2 separate regions of the Homo sapiens genome follow, and region 1 is linked to region 2. Evidence: promoter capture Hi-C in human tissues and cell types (Jung and others, 2019). All regions are on one chromosome and are shown on one strand. The core of a region is centred on a gene start or on the middle of the fragment in contact, and the rest is flanking DNA. Distances in the headings are between cores, read along the strand shown.

Region 1 (2,827 bases), core at 172-2,671, 97 kb before region 2:
ACTAATGAGTAGGAACTTTGGAATTATTCTGTATATGCACATGAAAAGACACCCTGGAGATGCTGTCTATGAGAGAACAATGGACATCTTGTTGACTTAACTTCCCAAGACTTCAAGGAAGGAATGAGGAATTGAAATTGCTGTTTATTCTCTATTCTATGTATTGGCTTTGAGCCACTGACAATTGAGAAAGTTACATGGATATATAATTTTTTTAATGTCTGTCTCAGCAGAAATAGAAATCAAAAAAGCAAAAGGTAGTCTGTGGGAAATAGACGCTGGGAAGGACACCTCAGGAAGATGAACCATGAACATAGCCCATGTCCACTCACCTGGGTTTCTCCTCTGCGGGCACTCTTTCTTTGCATTCGTTTATCACAAACCTTCTGCTTTCTCTGGTTGGACTCTGGAAAATGTGGCATTATCAAGTAAAATGATTTCTGGAATTTAACTATTCAACTAGAAAAGACCTCAGAGATTTGGGGGAAAAAAATCCCTTACTCATTTCTCAAAAGAGAAGCTGAAGCTCTGCAGGAGATAAATGACCTGCCCAAGATCACACAGTCAGAGCAGATGCAGGCTAACACCCTCTCTCTTTGCTGTCATCTTCTTTAGGAAGAGCAAGCCAAAAGAGAGATCAGAACTGTATGACATCTATGTAGACTTGCCTGATCCTCTAGATTTATTTTATTGGCAAAGAGAGAGGTTAGAGGGAAGCTTGAATCACTTTTCATTTCAGCGTATTCTCTTCAGTTAAGCTGTCCTTTGAGTCATGGGTTGTTTTTCTTTTGGGCCTTTAATTGCCATTACACGGCACATAAAAATAACCCAAGTTCTTAACATGCGTATTTGCAGCAAGAACACTTGATTATATCTCTTCATCAGTCCTACCTGCAGAGGCCACAGGCCTGCGCTCTGCAAGGACTTTTTCTCGCTGGGGCTTTTCTTCTTTGTGTGGGGAGTTAGTGTTTCCCTTGGTGATGGGCCAGGTGTAAACACCCTGCTTATGTAACAAGGCCCCTTTCCTCTGCAGACATGATGAGCTCTGAGGCTCTATGGCAAGACAGTGACCGCACTAACCATCCTTTGGCTGGGGTGACAGTCAGGCAGTCTCTCTATCAAGATGCTCCCAGCTCCCAGGTGATCCTGTCCCAGGACCCCAATTCAAGAGCTGGCTTTCCCTGTTTATTGCATTTGGAATCTTTCTCCTTATGGGTTTGGATGTGTCCAGCTTTTATCTTGGAAATTTTTCCGCTCTGCAGTCAATCCTCTCTCCAACTCAGTTAGTATGTGCTTTCTGCATCACCATTATTCCCTTGCTCGGCGTTTACCTCATTTTTACCTTTCTTGCTCACTTTCACTTCCTTTTAATTCTCTCACTGTTAAATTCTTTTTTAAGCTTCCCATAACCAAAATTACCATTTATTAATATTTCTCCCAGGGTCCCTTCTGCTGGCCCCTGACTGAATCCTCCTTGCTTCCTATTAACAATGCCTCCGCGCATTTCAACGTCATCTGATAGCACAAAATTACAAGCTCTTTGACACTCAAGTATTTTTTTTTTTAAATAAGACTACTTAATGAATTTTGCCTATTGCTAGACATAGAATCTGCCTGAAAAATACCAGGAAAATAAGATGAGGATGTCACTTAGCAACAAATGCCCCCTAAATTATGAACTTCAAAGAAATATTGCTTACTTTGACAATGGTTAAGCGATGCATCTGGAATCAAAGACTTAAGAAATTCCCCACCTCTGACATCAATAAGAAAAGGCTCAGGCTTCACACCTGTTGTTCCCTCTACATGGAAGGCTCTTTCTTCCACTCATGGCCTCACTATTTCCTGCTCAGACTTCAAGTGGTGAATGAATATCACTTCTTCAGGGAACTATGCCCTGACCCTCCAGTCTAAATTATATTCTTTGATTTGATCCTCACATCTGTAGCCCAAACTTCTCATCTGAATTTCCTGCTCTGATATCCAGCTGTCTGTTTGATGTCTCCATCAGGTGTCATAGACATCTTAAACTTAGCAAGTACAAACTGAATCCTTCATTTTTCTCCCTCGCACCTGTTTATACCCTGGTGTTCCCTATTTCAGTAAATGTTCTAGGTAAATGTTAACTATTTACCTAGTTACTCAAACCAGAAACCTTGGAGTCTGTCTTAGGTTGGGTTTCTTAGACACAGAGGCTCAGAAGGGGACTTCTGTCCAATTGATGCATTGCAAGGGAGCCCTCAGGAAACACCAGGCTATGCAGGAAGCCAGACAAGGCAGAAGCAAGAACGTGGCAAAAGACATGGGTGCAGCTGGAATCTAGCATCAACCTGATGCCATGGACATCTGTGGAGCATGAGCAACACAAGAGTTGGCTTACTTTGAGACAAGAAAATGGGGCTTTGTTACTCTGGTCTCAGTGAGTCATTGGTTACAAGCTTCCCACTCCCACCACTTTTCTAGGTGAGTATGCTCCATTGCCTGAGGTCAGAGAAGGAGGACGCTGGGAGCCATTAGCAAGCAACACTCATACCCACTGGGGATAGAGGCACCAGCATGGTGAAGGGGCCTGCATGGAGTCCTGACAGACCTGACTGTACCATCCTGAACTCCATTCTCTCTCTCACTGAACCACCCTCCATCCCACCAACATCACCTTAGTCCAAACCAGCTTCTCCACCTTGACTACTGTGCATTCTCTTGTCAATAGTTGTACTCCTCCTCCCTCCCACAAGAAGTAAGAAATAAAAGGATTAAGGTTGCTTTCTGAGATATAAGCTATAAGACCAATCAGAAAAGAAAAGTGGAAAGTCGCACTTGTAGGAGC
Region 2 (2,798 bases), core at 246-2,745:
AGACATGCTCTGAAGACAGGGTGGTCCATGGCATTCAAAGTGTATTCATTTCTACCGATGGTGCTTTTCTTGCATAGGTTCTGACTTGTGTAGATTTGGACTTCAAGCTAAAATAAAAAGAGAGGAATATGTGTATACATGAGAATGTGTGTGTAACGTGTCGATGGTATAAATAGTCTCTTCCTCTCTCTCTGAATTGCATGCACTTAAGCCCCTAAGAAAAGATCTCTTACCTCTTATCTAAGTAAAGCAGAATTTTGAGCTTTGAAGCTAAATGATACAATGAGATCAGTGTAAATACTCTTTAACACAACAATATTTGAGTAGCTTTGAAACAGTCGTCCTCATTTCGTTACATACAGAACGTTCGTGCTTCCTCCCTCTCAGGCAAGAAGCGGAGTCCGTCGTCAGCAGTTAGCAGAGTCCAGTGCGAGTGCACGTTTCTTAACCGGATAACTTAGTTGCCCCTGCCCCCCGTCGCTGCGCCCGAATTCGCCTCCAGTAGAAGACGTTCAGCGGGCGACTTGGCCCGGCGCCTGGGATCGGTGGCTATGCGTTCCCCAACTAGCACCCTCGCTGTCCTTGTGCAGTGGAACGTCCCCAGGTCTGAGAATGCACCTCCCGCCGTGTCCACCCCGGCCGCGTCTCTCCTGAAGGCAGATCTTGGAGGTGCAGCCAGGACTCCTAGAGGAGCCTCCTCCAGTCACCATCGCGGGTGGGGCGAGCCGGGTCTCCTGCTGGGCTTCCCAGCCGCTTCGCTCCGGACCTGCCTGGAGCCTACAAAAAACAAGGGCTCGTCCTTGCACTCTCGCCCCCCATGGATCACCCCTAGAAGGTGCTTTCCCCAACCCTCCTGGTGCCAAGGAGAGCAAACCTCCCCGGGGATTTGCCCAAAGTGGTGGGAGGAGGGTTAATATTTGCTTTGTTATTCGGATAAGGGGAGGCAAGTATGCCTTGGGTGTGTGTGTGTGTGTTTGAGAGAGAGAGAAAGAGAGAGAGAGAGAGAGAGAGGTGTTTTTGCAGCGGGAAACAAGCAGGAAGAGGCACAGAGGCCGGCGCCCCTGCTCCCCTCGGGGCCTCTGAGAGCGGCACACACCGTAATTCCCTTCCCAGAGCCTACAGATTCCCACAAACAATGACATCACTCCGCCGCCGCTGGCCTGATTACAGCTGGGGGGATTTTCCTGGGCGCGCGGCGGGCCAGGCTGAGATGGGGGAGCTCTCCGGTGCTGAAAGGGGCGGGGGCGCGGGCTCGCTGCGCTGCGCTGCGCTGCGCTGCGCCCCCAGAAGGCGGAGGCGGCCGGGCCGGGCCGGGCCGGGGGTGGGCGGGGGCGGGCCCGGGGCGGCCCAGGGCGGGGCCCGCCGCTTCCCCCGCCCTCATTGGCCGCTGGCGGACTCACGTCACCCGAGCTGGTGCTCTCCCCCAGCCCCTAGGGAATTGGAGCTGAGGAGGAGCTGAAAATGCAGATTTAGCATCAAGCACAGACCTACACTCGCTCTTTCTCTCCGGTACACACAGCTCCCCACATTCGCACCCCTGCCCGCGCGCCGGGCCGCCTGACTGCACGGCTTCCCCTCCAGCCAGATGCTGGAGAACACACACTGATTCGCTGCTTTCCAAGACCCTGTTCAGTCTCTTTCTCTATACAAAGATTTTTTTAAAAACTATATATAAGAATTCTTTATTTGCACCCTCCCTCCGAGTCCCCTGCTCCGCCAGCCTGCGCGCCTCCTAGCACCACTTTTCACTCCCAAAGAAGGATGAAGGGTGGTTGTGTCTCCCAGTGGAAGGCGGCCGCCGGGTTCCTCTTCTGTGTCATGGTTTTTGCATCTGCTGAGCGACCGGTCTTCACGAATCATTTTCTTGTGGAGTTGCATAAAGGGGGAGAGGACAAAGCTCGCCAAGTTGCAGCAGAACACGGCTTTGGAGTCCGAAAGGTAAGCTCTCCCATGCATTTCGCATGTTGTTTCAAAACGGGGGGACGGGGGGGCAGCCCTGCGCAATCTCATTGCAGATTTGCAAGTTTTCTCTCTTTCTCATGCGATGCAGATATTCTGCCATGGGCTCTTTAACACGATATTGCCTCCGGTGATCTTTCACCGGTTATGTAATTAAAATGTCCTTCATCTGTACTAGTAAGGTCATCAAAATAATTTACTGCTCTTTGACTTGATGGCGAAAATAGGATAACACCTTTCACAGGATGCCATGCTCCGGGGATGCTGTCCGAGGTACCAAGTTCTCGAGGCTGCCTGGGGATGGAGGGATGAAGCCCTGAACAGCTAAGCCTGGCGTTGGCTACTTGGCCAGGGAAGTCTCCCCCACCCCCATCCCCCGGAGAAAGAATAGTTTCCTACAGACGAGGCTGGACGTTTGGACACTGCAATTCACCTCGGTGTTTCTCCCACCCCGCGCCGGGAGGACTTCCCTCCCAGGGACTTCGGTCCCTGCTCCTCTCCGGGAACAACGGCTTCCTGACTCTAGATTTGGAAAGAAACTGGTCTCTAAAATCGGGGCGGAACTTCTGCGCCCTCACCCCCGCCCACGACCGCCCACCCCTGGAGCGCACTTCTGGTTGGCTCCCTAGTTCTCAACTCCCGGCTACAGGAGCTGGAGAGGTGGATTTTGAGGGGGATTCCCTACGGAGAAGTCGAGGTGTCCTCTCCTGATGCGTGGGCGGCCAGCCTGGCTTTCCCACTAGAGCGTGGGGATCCCCATTCCAAGAAGTTGCCAGAGTTCGACAGTTTGAGCAGATAGGTGAGCCTCCCAGCTTTGGACACCTTGGATCTCCTTTGGA

What was found. The method cuts DNA at HindIII sites, captures the fragments that hold promoters and counts their contacts. A contact is called where the count stands out against the background at its distance.
Region 1: a fragment that was not itself captured here is called in contact with the fragment with the promoter of PCSK2 in region 2 in 4 of the 25 tissues and cell types used here (adrenal gland, heart right ventricle, hippocampus and 1 more).

Annotation. Positions count from the first base shown.
Region 1 is chr20:17,128,313-17,131,139 of GRCh38, forward strand. All of the region lies in intron 1 of LOC105372544 (a long non-coding RNA gene), which reads left to right. Among named protein-coding and RNA genes, the nearest start is that of PCSK2, 97 kb to the right of the region's middle. The HindIII fragment of the contact is 3,310 bases long and covers 1-2,827 here.
Region 2 is chr20:17,225,545-17,228,342 of GRCh38, forward strand. It overlaps PCSK2 (proprotein convertase subtilisin/kexin type 2), which reads left to right and starts at 1,496. Exons shown (of 12, transcript NM_002594.5): 1 at 1,496-1,938. The coding sequence starts at 1,762. The HindIII fragment of the contact is 16,215 bases long and covers 1-2,798 here.